Linked DNA regions of Homo sapiens: region 1 is linked to region 2. Evidence: promoter capture Hi-C in human tissues and cell types (Jung and others, 2019). All regions are on one chromosome and are shown on one strand. Each heading gives the region's core, a stretch centred on a gene start or on the middle of the fragment in contact. The rest is flanking DNA. Distances are from core to core; before and after follow the strand shown.

The links. The method cuts DNA at HindIII sites, captures the fragments that hold promoters and counts their contacts. A contact is called where the count stands out against the background at its distance.
Region 1: a fragment that was not itself captured here is called in contact with the fragment with the promoter of PPP6R3 in region 2 in 1 of the 25 tissues and cell types used here (dorsolateral prefrontal cortex).

What each region holds. Positions count from the first base shown.
Region 1 is chr11:69,146,639-69,153,278 of GRCh38, reverse strand. LOC338694 (a long non-coding RNA gene) reads left to right here. Exons shown (of 3, transcript NR_104161.1): 3 at 5,539-6,051. Among named protein-coding and RNA genes, the nearest start is that of SMIM38, 6.0 kb to the left of the region's middle. RefSeq lists an enhancer at 4,069-4,568. The HindIII fragment of the contact is 5,475 bases long and covers 1-4,254 here.
Region 2 is chr11:68,459,044-68,466,164 of GRCh38, reverse strand. PPP6R3 (protein phosphatase 6 regulatory subunit 3) reads right to left here and starts at 5,413. Exons shown (of 24, transcript NM_001164161.2): 1 at 5,338-5,413. RefSeq lists silencers at 4,953-5,062, 5,113-5,162, 5,173-5,542, 5,853-6,002 and an enhancer at 5,683-5,742. The HindIII fragment of the contact is 5,146 bases long and covers 3,395-7,121 here.

The DNA.
Region 1 (6,640 bases), core at 268-2,767, 690 kb before region 2:
AAGGCCTGTGGCCCATCACCTCTTCCCCTGAGAATGCTGCATCTCAAAACCCCAGCCGGCGCAGGCTGCCGAAATCAACAGAACATGCATTTCAAACCGGGTTTCCACTGAAATGCTCCCTACACACAGACGGGCGAAAATTAATTTTCTTTCTTCCTGCGCCACAAAAGCAGATTAAAATCACGAACAGTGGGACGAGTGGGGGGAAGTGGAGGGCTTCCTCATTGAGGGAGACCCCTGCCCGGGAGGTTTCTCTCCCTAACAAGGGATGGCCTCAGCCGTTTGAAACGCCCTGCTGCAGGCATAAAGCCCGACCCAGGAGAAGGCACTTGAGAAAAAGGACGCCGCTGCCCTCCCAACGGTTGAAAGCTGGTATGTAACTTTGCTCGGGGTGATCAAACAGCTAGTCAAGGACGCTGTCAGGAACAGAATGAAATTCCAAATAAATTAGCCATGTCCAGAAGCCAATACAACACCGGATTAAGGCTCACAAAGAAAACACAATTTATTCAGCCTACCTTGTCAGAATTCTTAATAACCCCCCTTCCTTTCCCTCACCTCAGGCTGAGAGTCCCTGGGTGTGAAGAGACAAAGTGAACCCCACTCGGGACGCTGGGCGTCTGGTGTAGACGCTGGGCATCCAGTAGATGCGCTGGATGTCTGGTGGAGCATAAGCGTTTACAAAATCGTGTTTTTAGGAACATTTCAGCGGGGGCCATACACAATCGCGTAGGGAAGGCAAGCTGTCCCCAAGTCCCACTCACATCTGAATGAGCGGGTTCATACATTAGAATACAGGAGGAGGCGGGCAGAGACAGGAATATTAACCATTTCAGCTTAACTCTTTGGGGTTTTAGTAGCATCCCTGCCGTCGCCTCAAATGAAGTGTGTTCTGGCGGAGGTGCCTGAAAGCTCTGTCTTCATTTGCACATGATTTTATCTTTTAAGGCAACAAGTAGGTGAATGGTAACTATCACCCTTTGCAAATCCTAACTGTCCTCCGTGACAACTCATTAATATATTCAGCAGCCCTAAAGACAATATCTTTTTTTTTTTTTTTATCAATGAACCCAGACGACTTTCGCAGCCAACAAACGTTCTTTGAAAGAGTTAATAGGCAGAGGTTTGTGTGCGGACTCTGGAGCAGGCATCTTTGAAGGGTCCCGGGCCTCCTCCTTGTCTTAGGCTGTGATGATGTATCTGGTTTGCCCAAAGGCCTCAGTGAGAGTATGGGGCCCTTTCTTTGTCCCCAGAGAGGGGGGTGGAGGGGCCGGGGACGGGGAGTTTGCTCTGCAGCACCGAGCCATTTGCAAGAGATAAAGCCGACAGGGAATTTGAAGGGGAGTTGGGAGGAAGTGATTGGGCCATTACTCTGAGACGGAATGTCAAGATGCTTGAGAAATACACAAAATAAAGATTTTCCCAGAAATTCTTTTAAAAGAGATGACCTAATGGTATTAAATTAAAAAAAAAAAAGATAAAAGAATTGTGCTAAGCTTGGGGAAATCTCTGCCATTTCCCAAGCCTAGATTCTCTCTTGATTTCTAAATAAAACAAGAAGGCAAACAGTGGGGACAAAGACAGGGAGACATGTTTGAGGCCTGCCATGTGCACACAAAATGATTTTTGCGAGAGTGGGCAGGAGTGTGCCTTGGAACAGGACCCCAGCCCAAGGACAATGGGCATGAGAACCCCATGATGCTCCAGGGCTCTGAAAGTGGAACTGAGCTACTGGGAGGTGCCCTGTAGTCACCAAGTATGTGCCACAAGGAAAATCTCCTGTCACCTTAGAAAGGCTGTGGTCTCCTTTAAGTTCCATATAGATTCTGGATATTAGACCTTGGTCGGATACATAGTTTGCAAAAATTTTCTACCATTCTCTAGGGTGTCTGTTTACTCTGTTGATACTTTCTTTTGCTGTGCAGAAGCTCTTCAGTTTAAGTAGATCCCATTTGTCAATTTCTGCTTTTGTTGCAATTGCTTTTGGCATCTTCATCATGATATCTTTGCCCATGCCTATGTCCTGAAAGGCTTGCCTAGGTTGTCTTCCAGGGTTTTTATAGTTTGGGGCTTTCCATTTAAGTATTTAATCCCTCTTGAGTTAATTTTTGTATATGGTGTAAGGAAGGGGTCCAGTTTTAATGTTCTGCATATGGCTAGCCAGTTATCCCAGCACCATTTATTGAATAAAGAATCCTTCCCCATTGCTTTTTTTGTCAGTTTTGTCGAAGATCAGATAATTGTAGGTGTGTGGTCTTATTTCTGGGTTCTCTATTCTGTTCCATTGCTCCATGTGTCTGTTTTTGTACCAGTACCATACTGTTTTGGTCACTGTAGCCTGGTAGTATAGTTCAAAGCCGAGTAGAGTGATGCCTCCGGCTTTTTTCTTTTTGCTTAGGAACAACCCTATTAAAAAGTGGCCAAAGGACATGAACAGACAGTTTTCAAAAGAAGACATACATGAAGCCAACAATCATATGAATAAAAGCTGAACGTCACTGATCATTAGACAAATGCAAGTCAAAACCACAATGAGATACCATCTCACACCAATCAGAATGGCTATTATTAAAAAGTCAAAAAAAAAAAAAAAAACCAGCAGATACTAGTGAGGCTCTGGAGAGAAAGGAACACTTATAAACTGTTGGTGTGAGTGTAAATTAGCTCAACCATCGTGAAAGACAGTGTGGCAATTCCTCAAAGACCAAAGAGAGAAATACCATTTGACCCAGCAATCCCATTACAAGGTATATACTCAAAGGAATATAAATCATTCTATTATAAAGATACCTGCACATGTACATTCATTGCAACACTATTCACAATAGCAAAGACACGGAATCAACCTAAATGCCCATCAATGGAGAAAGAAGTTGTGGCACATATATATCATGGAATACTACACAGCCATAAAAAGGAATGACAACACATCCCTTGCAGGGACATGGATGGAGCAATAGGCCATTATCCGTAGCAAACTAATGCAGGAAGAGAAAACCCAGTACTGCATGTTCTCACTTATAAGTGGGAGCTAAATGATGAGAACACATGAACACAAAGAGGGGAACAGACACTAGGGCCGTTTAGAAGTTGGAGGATGGGAGGGAAGGAGGGAGAGGATCAGGAAAAATAACTAATGGGTACTAGGCTTAATACCTGGGTGATGAAATAATCTGTACAACAAACCCCCATGACACAAGTTTACCTATGTAACAGACCTGCTCATGTACCCCTGAATTTAAAATAAAAGTTAAAAAAAAAAAAAACAGAGAGAGAGAAAGAAATGCTGTGGTCTCACAGCCACCCTGAGCGACATGTGTTCAGAGCCTCCCAGAGACTCCATTGTCAGTGGGTGACAGTGTTCACTTACCAGGAAGAGGAGGCTGCTCAGGCTAACCCAGCCATGACCCCCGCTGGAGGCTAGCTCTGGCACATCCTCTGGCTGGAGGCTAGCCCAGGCGTGACCCCTGGCTTCAGACTAGCTGGGGCTTGTCCTGTGGCTAGCTGCTAGCCTAGGCATTGAGAGGTGAAGCCAGCTGGACTTCCTGGGTCGAGTGGGGACTTGGAGAACTTTTCTGTCTAGCTAAAGGTTTGTAAATGCACCAATCAGCACTCTGTAAAAATGCACCAATCAGCGCTCTGTGTCTAGCTAAAGGTTTGTAAATGCACCAATGAGCACTCTGTAAAAACGCACCAATCAGTGCTCTGTGTCTAGCTTAAGGTTTGTAATTGCACCAATCAGCACTCTGTAAAAACGGACCAATCAGTGCTTTGTAAAATGGACCAATCAGCAGGACGTGGGGGTGCCAAATAAGGGACTAAAAGCTGGCCACCAAAGCCAGCAGCGGCAACCCACTCGGGTCCCCTTCCATGCTGTGGAAGCTTTGTTCTTTCGCTCTTCATGATAAACCTTGCTGCTGCTCACTCTTTGGGTCCACACTGCCTTTATGAGCTGTAACACTCACCACGAGGGTCTGTGGCTTCATTCCTGAAGTCAGCGAGACCATGAACCCACTGGGAGGAACAACCAACTCCCACGTGCCACCTTCAAGAACTGTAACACTCACTGCGAAGATCTGTGGCTTCACTCCTGAAGTCAGCAAGACCACAAACCCACCAGAAGAAAGAAACTCCGGACACATCTGAACATCTGAAGGAACAAGCTCCAGACACACTATCTTTAAGAACTGTAACACTCACCGCGAGCGTCTGCGGCTTCATTCTTGAAGTCAGGGAGACCAAGAATCCACCGGAAGAAACCAATTCCAAACACAGCATGACCCCCGTTGGAGGCTAGCTTGGGCCCATCCCGTGGCTGGAGGCTAGCCCAGGTACATCCCCCGGCTGGGGGCTAGGTCAGGCACATCCCCTGGAACCTCACCAGGAAGCACAGTGGCCACCTCTCCTTCTAAGGCACTGGGTCTCTCTGCCTGACTTCTTCCACCTTCTCTTTCTCTCTGCTCATTGGCTCCCTCTGCTCTGCCTGAGCCTAAAGGCACTGTCAGCCTCACCCATAAATAAGTCCAGCACCCACACTTTGCTGCTGGCCTCCCAGCCCCAGGCTCCCGAGAGAGAATCAGAAGAGCTCAGCAGCCCCTGCATTGGTTCCACAGGCAAAGTCCAAGCTTGACCAACCCGCTGAGGGCTGAGGTACACACATGACTGTGGGCGCTCCAAGAAGGCAGACGAGAAGCAGAGCACATGTGGCCGGCCCCCACCTCTAACCTATTTGCACACACACGTGCAACACATTTCCAAGTCCCGCTGAACACTGAACGTCACGTTACATTTTGTTACATTTCCTTAGCAGTGAGCACTGTTGGGCGATTAACAAAGACGAAAACACCAACAACCTGTATAGTCACAGAGGGTGTGACAACTCACACGGTGCCTCCGTATCCAACGTCCATTTCTGGCACTTGTAAAGCATGCGAGGCTCAGAGAGGTGGAACGTATCTGTTGCCTCTGGGATCCCTGACTTGAAAGTTCACACCCAGGCTCCTGTCACTGAGCAGAGCCCCAGGCAAAGATGCTGAGCCAGGGGAGGTGGCTCTATCACTCCTCCCCCATGCCCCGGCTTCCCTGCCCTGCAGGACGACTGCCTGTCCCCACCCTACTGAACTCAGGAGTGGCCAGTGAGATAAGGGAGGAAATACTCCTGTCGCTTCCTGGTGTGGTGGCTCACACCTGTAATCCCAGCACTTTGGGAGGCTGAGGCAGGCAGATCATGAGGTCAGGAGTTCGAGACCAGCCTGGCCAATAGGGTGAAACCCTGTCTCAACTAATAATACAAAAACCATTAGTCAGGCATGGTGACATGCTCCTGTAGTCCCAGCTACTTGGGAGGCTGAGGCAGAAGAATTGCTTGAACCCGGGAGGAGAAGGTAGCAGTGAGCCAAGATCACGCCACTGCACTCCAGCCTGGGCGACAGAGCGAGACTCTGTCTCAAAATAAATAAATAAATAAATAAATAAATAAATAAATAAGCCAGGGCATGGTTTGCAACGTTCTCTTTTCCCTCTTCCTTTTCCTTCCAGGAAGGAGGCTGCCCTGCCTGGAGTGAAGAGTGCATGGAGCAGTCTCAGCCGACCCAGGTGGGATGCGTAACATGGCCGAGAAATCCACCCATGCTGCTGAGAGCTACTGCGCCATGGGGTCATGTGTCACCTAACTGACTTAGCCCAGCCTGACTGATCCCCCGTGTGTGACCAGACATCAGCACATTCAGAGGACCTCATACTGAGAATTGGTGGACCTTTCAGAATGGACATGACCACTCAAAGTAGGGACATTACTCGCTATTTGATGGCCCATGTGGGATCAAAGGCCACTGGGGTTCCCTCAAGGCACAGCACACTTAGAATCCCATAAGTCCTCAGTTCTAAGGCATGTATTTTTCATACTTTGATAATTCTGAAATCAAGTATAGCTTCTAGTAGATATTAAAACTCATTTTCAGATCCTGCAGAAAGGAGGAGACAGAAATAAAGTTGCCATTCCCTGCTTTTGTATGAACCCAGCTGAGCATAAACCGTAATCTATTCAACCTCTACCGGGTGTTTGCCTTGCGTCCCCACACGTGGTTGACTCATAACCTAAGTTTGAATCCCTAATTTTCACTTTAAATAACTTCAGCTACTCGGGATGCTGAGGCAGGGGAATCGTCTGAACCCAGGAGGTGGAGGTTGCAATGAGCCGAGACTGCGCCACTGCATTCCACCCTGGGTGACACAGCAAGACTCTGTCTCGGGAAATAAAATTAAATTAAATTAAATCAAATCTTCAAAAATATTGCAGTACAATGCAGCACTGAAACAAGAAGCTGTTGTGTATGTGAGATTTCCTGTCCCACATTGGGCAATGCAACTGAAGGCAATAGAAACCAGGACATTGCTCAGAATATGCCATAAAGCTCCACCATGCTAAGAGTTTAAAAAAAAGAAAAGAAAAGAAAGAAAGAAAAACAGAAAACCAAAAATAAAAGAAGAAAAATAAAGCTCCACCGTGCAGCTGGAGATGTTAGCATGAATAACCTCTAGATGAACATAATCTATCAAAAGGTTTTTGCTGTCAGAAGAAACAACAGAAAGTAGAATCAGACCCAGACCTGTCAAAATTATCAGAATATAATATAAAATA
Region 2 (7,121 bases), core at 4,164-6,663:
CCTAGATCCATAATGCAGCAGGAGAAACACCCCCTCCCACTTGAAGTAGCATCTATTTCAAGAATGCCGGAAACATTTTGCAAAAACCTACAGCAAGCTTCGGACGGGTCTGGAACCAGAGAGTCAGTGTCTGAGGTTTGGTCAAAGGATAACTGTTGTGTAGGGAGCTATAAACAGCTATCTGTCATTACAAAACGGCTTCAGTATGGGAAGAATGGCACTGCTTTTTAAGACTCCTCAAACTAAGGAGGCAAGTCGAAGTAATCATTTCTTATAAATGAGTAACAAAGTGTAACTATCTTATTCTTTTGCAAAACTTCTGGCAATCTCAACCACCCAAAGTTTAAACAAATCAACCAACTGACCAGCAAACAGAAGCTCTTTCCTCCCAGGCCCCATTGACACCATGTACAATTCTTAACAGCTTTGTCGTCTCTTGTTTGCCTCTTCCTCTAGACTGCAGGTCCTTAAGGGCCTGTTCATCAGTGAATCCCTAATACAGTTCCTAGCAGAGTAAGGACTCAATTAATGTATTTGCTGATGAAATAAATGGATATTAGAAGTAGATGGTGGTCACTGGTAGTTCTCAACATAGGCACAGGCCGAATTTCAGGATGAAGAATAAGAAAATGCCTCCATGACCTTTTGTAACTTCAGATATTAACATTTAGCTGCTAAAAATTTATAGTTTTCCTAATATTCTTCCATTCCATAAACTAGATAATCTAAATTTTAATATGAGCAAAAAAGATCTACCCTTCTCTCTACCACTGCATCTCATCTCCCCAGGAGAAAAGAACACTTCTCTGCTGGGATCAGAGTCTAGGGCACAGAAGAGTCCAACTTACCAGTGGGCAGGATCACTGTGTTAAAGGCTGAGCATACTGTATGCCTATCTGTGCCCTCAATGGGCAGAACTGGTAAACTGATCCAGGGCTAATTCTCTGGGAATAGGTCTTTATTAAAACAAAAACAAAAACAAAAAACAGGCATGGTGGCTCACGCCTGTAATCCCAGCACTTTGGGAGGCCGAGGCGGGCGGATCACTTGAGGTCAGGAGATCGGGACCAGCCTGGCCCACATGGTGAAACCCCATCTCTACTAAAAATACAAAAATGAGCCAGGTGTGGTGGCACGCACCTGTAATCCTAGCTACTCAGGAGGCTAAGGCAGGAGAATCACTTGAACCCAGGAGGCGGAGGTTGCAGTGAGCCAAGATCATGCCACTGCACTCCAGCCTGGGTGACATAGTGAGACTGTCTCCGAAAAAAAAAAAAAAAAGTTGAAGCTGGCATCTAAAACCAGACCTGACCACTGACTGACAAAAGGAGGGCAAAAGATACTAACTCAAAAATTACAGTAGTGTAAGATTATTCAGCACAGAAGCAAACTCTAAATATCTAAGAATTTTGCTTAGTTTCAGCACAGTATGGTAATGTATTTTCATGAGGTTAAGAAAAAAAAGTCCTAAGATATTTTATAAAATCAATTAACAAATGCTTCTAAAGTTCAGTCTTCAGGCATCTGAAAAATGGTTAAGTATACCATCTAAATAATCCCCACTACTAAATAATCTCCAAGGCAGGATCTAGGTACTGCAAAGACCAAGTTCACAGATCACCGAAAGGAACCCTTAACTCACAAACAGTCCCTAAACCTGTGGTGTAAAACAGTGGTTCCAAAATTCAGCTGCATTTCAGTATTGTCTGAGAAGCTTCTAAAAAATAGATTCTCGTGGCCGGGCATGGTAGCTCACACCTGTAATCCCAGCACTTTGGGAGGCCGAGGCGGGTAGATCACGAGGTCAGGAGTTCAAGACCACCCTGGCCAAGATGTGAAACTCCATCTCTACTAAAAATACAAAAAACAGCCGGGCATGGTGGCGGGTGCCTGTAATCCCCGCCACTAGGGAGGCTGAGGCAGAGAACTGCTTGAACCCAGGAGGCAGAGGTTGCAGTGAGCCGAGATGGCACCACCACACTCCAGCCTGGGCGACAGAGCTAGACTCATCTCAAAAAAAATTAATAAGATTCTCAATCCCACCATTTCCAGAGGTGGAGTCCAACATCCATGGTCTTAAAAAATTTCTAATTATTCTAATGCAGGCTTATTCTAATGTAGGCCAGTCTCACATCTATCTAAGTGCAGGATTTCTCAACCTCAGCAGTGTTGCTATTTGGGACTGGATACTTTTGCTGGCGGGCAGGGAGGAGGCTATGCTGGACACTGTAGGATGTTTAGCAGTATCCTTGGCCTCTACCCTCCAGAAGCACACTGCCCACTCCCAGAGGTGTAACAAGCAAAAATATGTCCAGACACTGCCAAATGTTTCCTGGGGGGTGAGGGGGGAACCACCCCCAACTGAGAACTCTTGAACTAGAGTAAATCAAAAGACAATCATTTGAAGTTAAGAAAGGAAAGAAATATGAAAGCTGTTTAAAGCCAAGAGGCCAGATCTTTTTTTCAGTACATTAGAAAAAGTAGCAGCCAATACTGGGGTGCAGACCATAACTTCTAAGGACCAAGTCAATGCTGAGTTTTAGTTGAGCAGATAGAAGAGCTTTATTTTCACTATCATTTACTCTTATTTAGTAAAATACTGTAAAATTTTAGACCAAAACACACACACACACAAACACACACAGAGGCTGCCTCTCAAATACTGAAAATATAGAACTAGACAATGGAAGTTGTCATAGAAATAAAATACCGATCGTGACACTTGTTTTAAAGAGATGTTTATTTGTAACAAGCACATAATCTACCAAATAGGTGCAAAGCCCTATCTTTTTTTTTTTTTTTTTTTTTTCTGAGACTGAGTCTCGCTCTGTCTCCTAGGCTGGACTTGGCTCACTGCAACCTCCGCCTCCCAGGTTTAAGCGATTCTCCTGCCTCAGCCTCCCAAATAACTGGGATTACAGTCACACGCCACCATGACCGACTAATTTTTGTATTTTTAATAGAGACAAGGTTTCACATGTTGGCCTGGTCTCGAACTCCTGACCTTAAGTGATCCGCCAGCCTCGGCCTCCCAAAGTGCTGGGATTACAGGCGTGAGCCACTGCGCCCGGCCAAAGCTTTATCTTAAAAAGCTAGGCAACCTCATCCTGTCAATGTTACTTCTATTCATTTTCTGCTCAGCTATGGTCTGATTCTCAAATTCTCAATTAGTTCATTGAAACTAACAACTTTTTGCTTGTTGACTTTGCTTTGCTATACTTTACACAAAGGCTAGAGTTCTAAACCGAAAACAATCTTCTTCCTGTCCTTAAGTTCCACCAGCAAGATACTCATCTCTACTTAAGACTGAGTCCATCAAAACACACATCTCCAATACAGCAAACCAAGTCCCAAGTAAACACAACAATACCAGGGGAAGGTGCACGCAAGGTTTCGAGCACCATGGAGGAGAGTATCGGGCAAGCGGTAAAGGATTGTGAGTTTATTTCTGACTGAGTGCAGGCATTTTGTTCAATGTTCTAGACTCCCTGACCAGACATGCTGAAGTGGAGAATACCTTCCAAAGTATCCCTCCAGGACAAAAGCTATTTCCCAAACTATCTTTGCTGAAGAATACTGCAATCCACGGCACCCTTACAGTTTTCAGTAACAAGGAGGACTTACACTAAGAAACCCTAGTTACTGATTCGGGTGGCAGTCACCCAGAAACTAGTATCCAAAAGCACATGAGGAACAAAGCCCGACTTAAGCTTGTGATGGGCTTTTCTGTATTTAACCATCTCTTTAAACATTATGAGGCGCTACTACTCATTAATTACTCCGGTAAATGTTCCTAATTTAAGGAATGGTCAAAAACCCTGTCCTGAAAAAATTAAAATAACTTATAGTTTTACTTTTTCAGCCCAACTGAGTCTTACACAGAGCTTTCTAAAGGCAGTCACCAAGAGTCGGGACTCAAATGCTCATCTGACTTCCCAATAGTACCTAAACATTTAAAAATCAAATTTAAATTAAACAATAATAGCCATTAACTAGCCTAACCACTAATCAGCCACTGAGGTGACTGTATGTGCCAGGCACAGCTCTAGCTGTTTTACATGTATTAGGGCAATTATCCTGACAAACTTATGGCTGGGACACTTATTATTATTCCCATACTACAGAGAAAAAAAAAGAGAAGCTGGGTAACTTGCCCAAGGTCACAGAGCTAAAAAGTGGTCACTGACTCCACTCCACAGTGAGGAAAACCCAACCACCACCATAACTGGGTCTCATACACTTGCTACTTGAGGCACAGTTCGGTGGTTGGAAACCTGGAGTCCCTGTCCCCCTTGAAGCCTATCTGCAACATGACCTTGAGGACAAAATCAAAGTAAACGTCCCACGAATAAAGGACACCACCCCGTCAACAAGTGCTGCGAGGATGAAAGGGAACGCCTGTCAAGCACCCCCTCCCATAAAAGCAAAACAGACCCAAAGCCCCACAGAGAAAACGTGAAGTACCAGGAAAATGACATTAAGTCACGCGGTTGAAACGTCAGGGCACGGAGGTACATCCAAAGACCCATCCCGTTCACCTATAATTAAAAAGTCTAAATTGTGATCACAGCCAGCAGGACCTCAACAGGAAACACCTCCAAGTAAACAGTGAATGGGCTTCTTTAAGAGGGAGGGACTTCAAGCCACAAGAAGGACCACCCACCCCCCCCACCCCCGGCTCAAATACACCAGGGAGGCATTCGAGACAGTTTACATACAAGCCACCTCACAGGAGTTAAAAAGCCACTGGGAAGGGTACTGGGAGCCTCGGAACTGGCTGGTGTGGATCCCGATGACTCTGCGGCGAATTAACAGAAACCCACAAAACTTGTTTCCCGAAGAGCAGAGTCCAACAATGGTCTTCGCGACTCTTGACGGCGAGTTGCTGCCTCAACTTGACGCGCTCCCCGAGGCCCCCGGGAGGCCCAGCGGGAGCGGAGACCGGGCGCGGGCCGGGCGGGGGGCGAGACTGCGGGCCGCGGCCGGCGGGCGGGAAGGCTGGAGCCAGAGCCGGGTCAGGGGCGCGCCTCGCCCGCCCGCCGCGCCAGGCCGCGAACGTCAACGAGGCACAAAGTCGCCGCCCCGACCGCGTCCCGCTCCCGGCGCCCGTCCTGGCGGGGCCCCCGGCTAACAGGAGCGGACGGGGAGCGGCCGGGAAGGACTCGGCGCCGCGCCTCCCGGGCCCGCGGAGCGACGAATTCCGGGGGGGGAGGGGAGAGGGGCCGGGACGTTCCCTCCCTGAGCCGCTGAGGCCAGGTGGAGGGGCCCCGCGCCTGCCCGCGCGCCTCGCACACCCCGCGCCGCGGCCTGCTCCGGCGCCTCCCCTACCCCCATTACCTGGAGGTGCCCACGACCCGCCGCTAGTTGCGCTCAGGCGGGAAACGCGCTCACCGACACCATCAGCGAAGCGCCCAAAATGGCGGACGTATCAAGCAGGCCTTGAGTTCCCCCCCGCCCGCCCTCTGGCCGCCTCTCAGCCAATCGCGGCCCTGCCCCCGCCCCCAGCTCCAGGCTCATTGGCCCCTCTCTCCCGCCCCCTACTACCTATTGGATCGCCTAGCGGCTCCTTTGACTACATTCCGATTGGCCCGCAAGCCTCGTCAGTCAAGCGCGAGGGGCGCATTCTTTTCCCATGGACTTGACGGATCCGGAACCTCTAGGACCCCGGAGCCTGAGAAACAAATCAGAAACGGGGAGAAACCTGGCTGGGACCCCCTACGCCGTAGCAACAGCAGGTCCTCCGCTTGACGGACGCTTCGGACCACCAATCCGAGTGGCCAATGCTTTTTAAAACTAAATTGAGCCAAGCCCATCATGGCCGTGGAGCCGGAGCCGTGAGGGATCCAATAGGGTGGCGAGCTGGCCGGGCGGGGCGGGGGCGGCGGGGGACACCGGTGGTGACGTGAGCCACAATATGCGCCGGCTGCAAAGGTTAGGCCGGGCTAGGGAATCAGCTTAAGTGGAGGAGCGTTCGTTTAGTATGTGAGAGGTAACGGGATCGATGCCTGCATTCTCCACAGGGGAATTTTTATCAGAATGATTTCCCATTGCGATCTCTTTACCTGAAAGAGGTGGCTGTCCTCGTAGCGGGGTCAAGGTGAGGGATCGCGGAATATCCCTACCTGTGACGCACCGCCAAGAGATAAGTGCCCTTGTCCTGGGAGAAGGACTTAGACGAGAACTTTTGGGGTTTGGTTTTGTTTGAGACGGAGTTTCCCTGTTGTCCCCCAGGCTGGAGTGCAGTGGTGCGACCTCAGCTCATTGCAACCTCCGCCTCCCAGGTTCAAGCAGTTCTGTCTCAGCCTCCCGTGTAGCTGGGATTACAAGTGCACGCCACCATGCCCGGCTAATTTTTGTATTTTTAGAAGAGACGGGTGTTTCACCATGTTGGCCAGGCTGGTCTCGAACTCCTGACCTCAGGTGATCCGCCCACCTCAGCCTCCCAAAGTGCAGGGGTTATAGGGGTGAGCCACCGCGCCTGGCCTGGGGTCTTTTTTGAGACAAGGTCTTGCTCTGTTGTCCAGGCTGGAGTGCAGTGGGGTGATCATGACTCACTGCAGCCTCCACCTCCTGGGCTCAAGCAGTCCCCCCACCTCAGCCTCCCGAGTAGCTGGGACCATAGGCACGCACCACTGGGCCCCGCTAATTTAATTTTTTTGTAGAGACAGGGTTTCCCTGTGCACACGAGCTTCTAAATGCTCCCCCGGGCTTCCCGTTCCCCGCCATATCTGTGCCTCCCAGGTAGGACCGAGGTCCCGGACATCAGGACCCCCGCCCCAAGAGCCAGCCCAGGACACCGAGACAGCCCACGGTTAGACCCCATGCTAATAACCTGCCTTATTCCAAAATGGATTTGAGGCGCCTCTCAGAGTCCCATGAAAATCCACAGGAGGTCACGGCGCGGTCACGCCTGTAATCCCAGCACTTTGGGAGGCGGAGGCGGGTGGATCACGAGGTCAGGAGATCGAGACCATCCTGGCTAACACGGTGAAACCCCGTCTCTACTAAAAATACAAAAAGAAAAAAAAAATAGCCGGGCGCAGTGGCGGGCGCCTGTAGTCCCAGCTACTCAGGAGGCTGAGGCAGGAGAATGGCGTGAACCCGGAAGGCGGAGCTTGCAG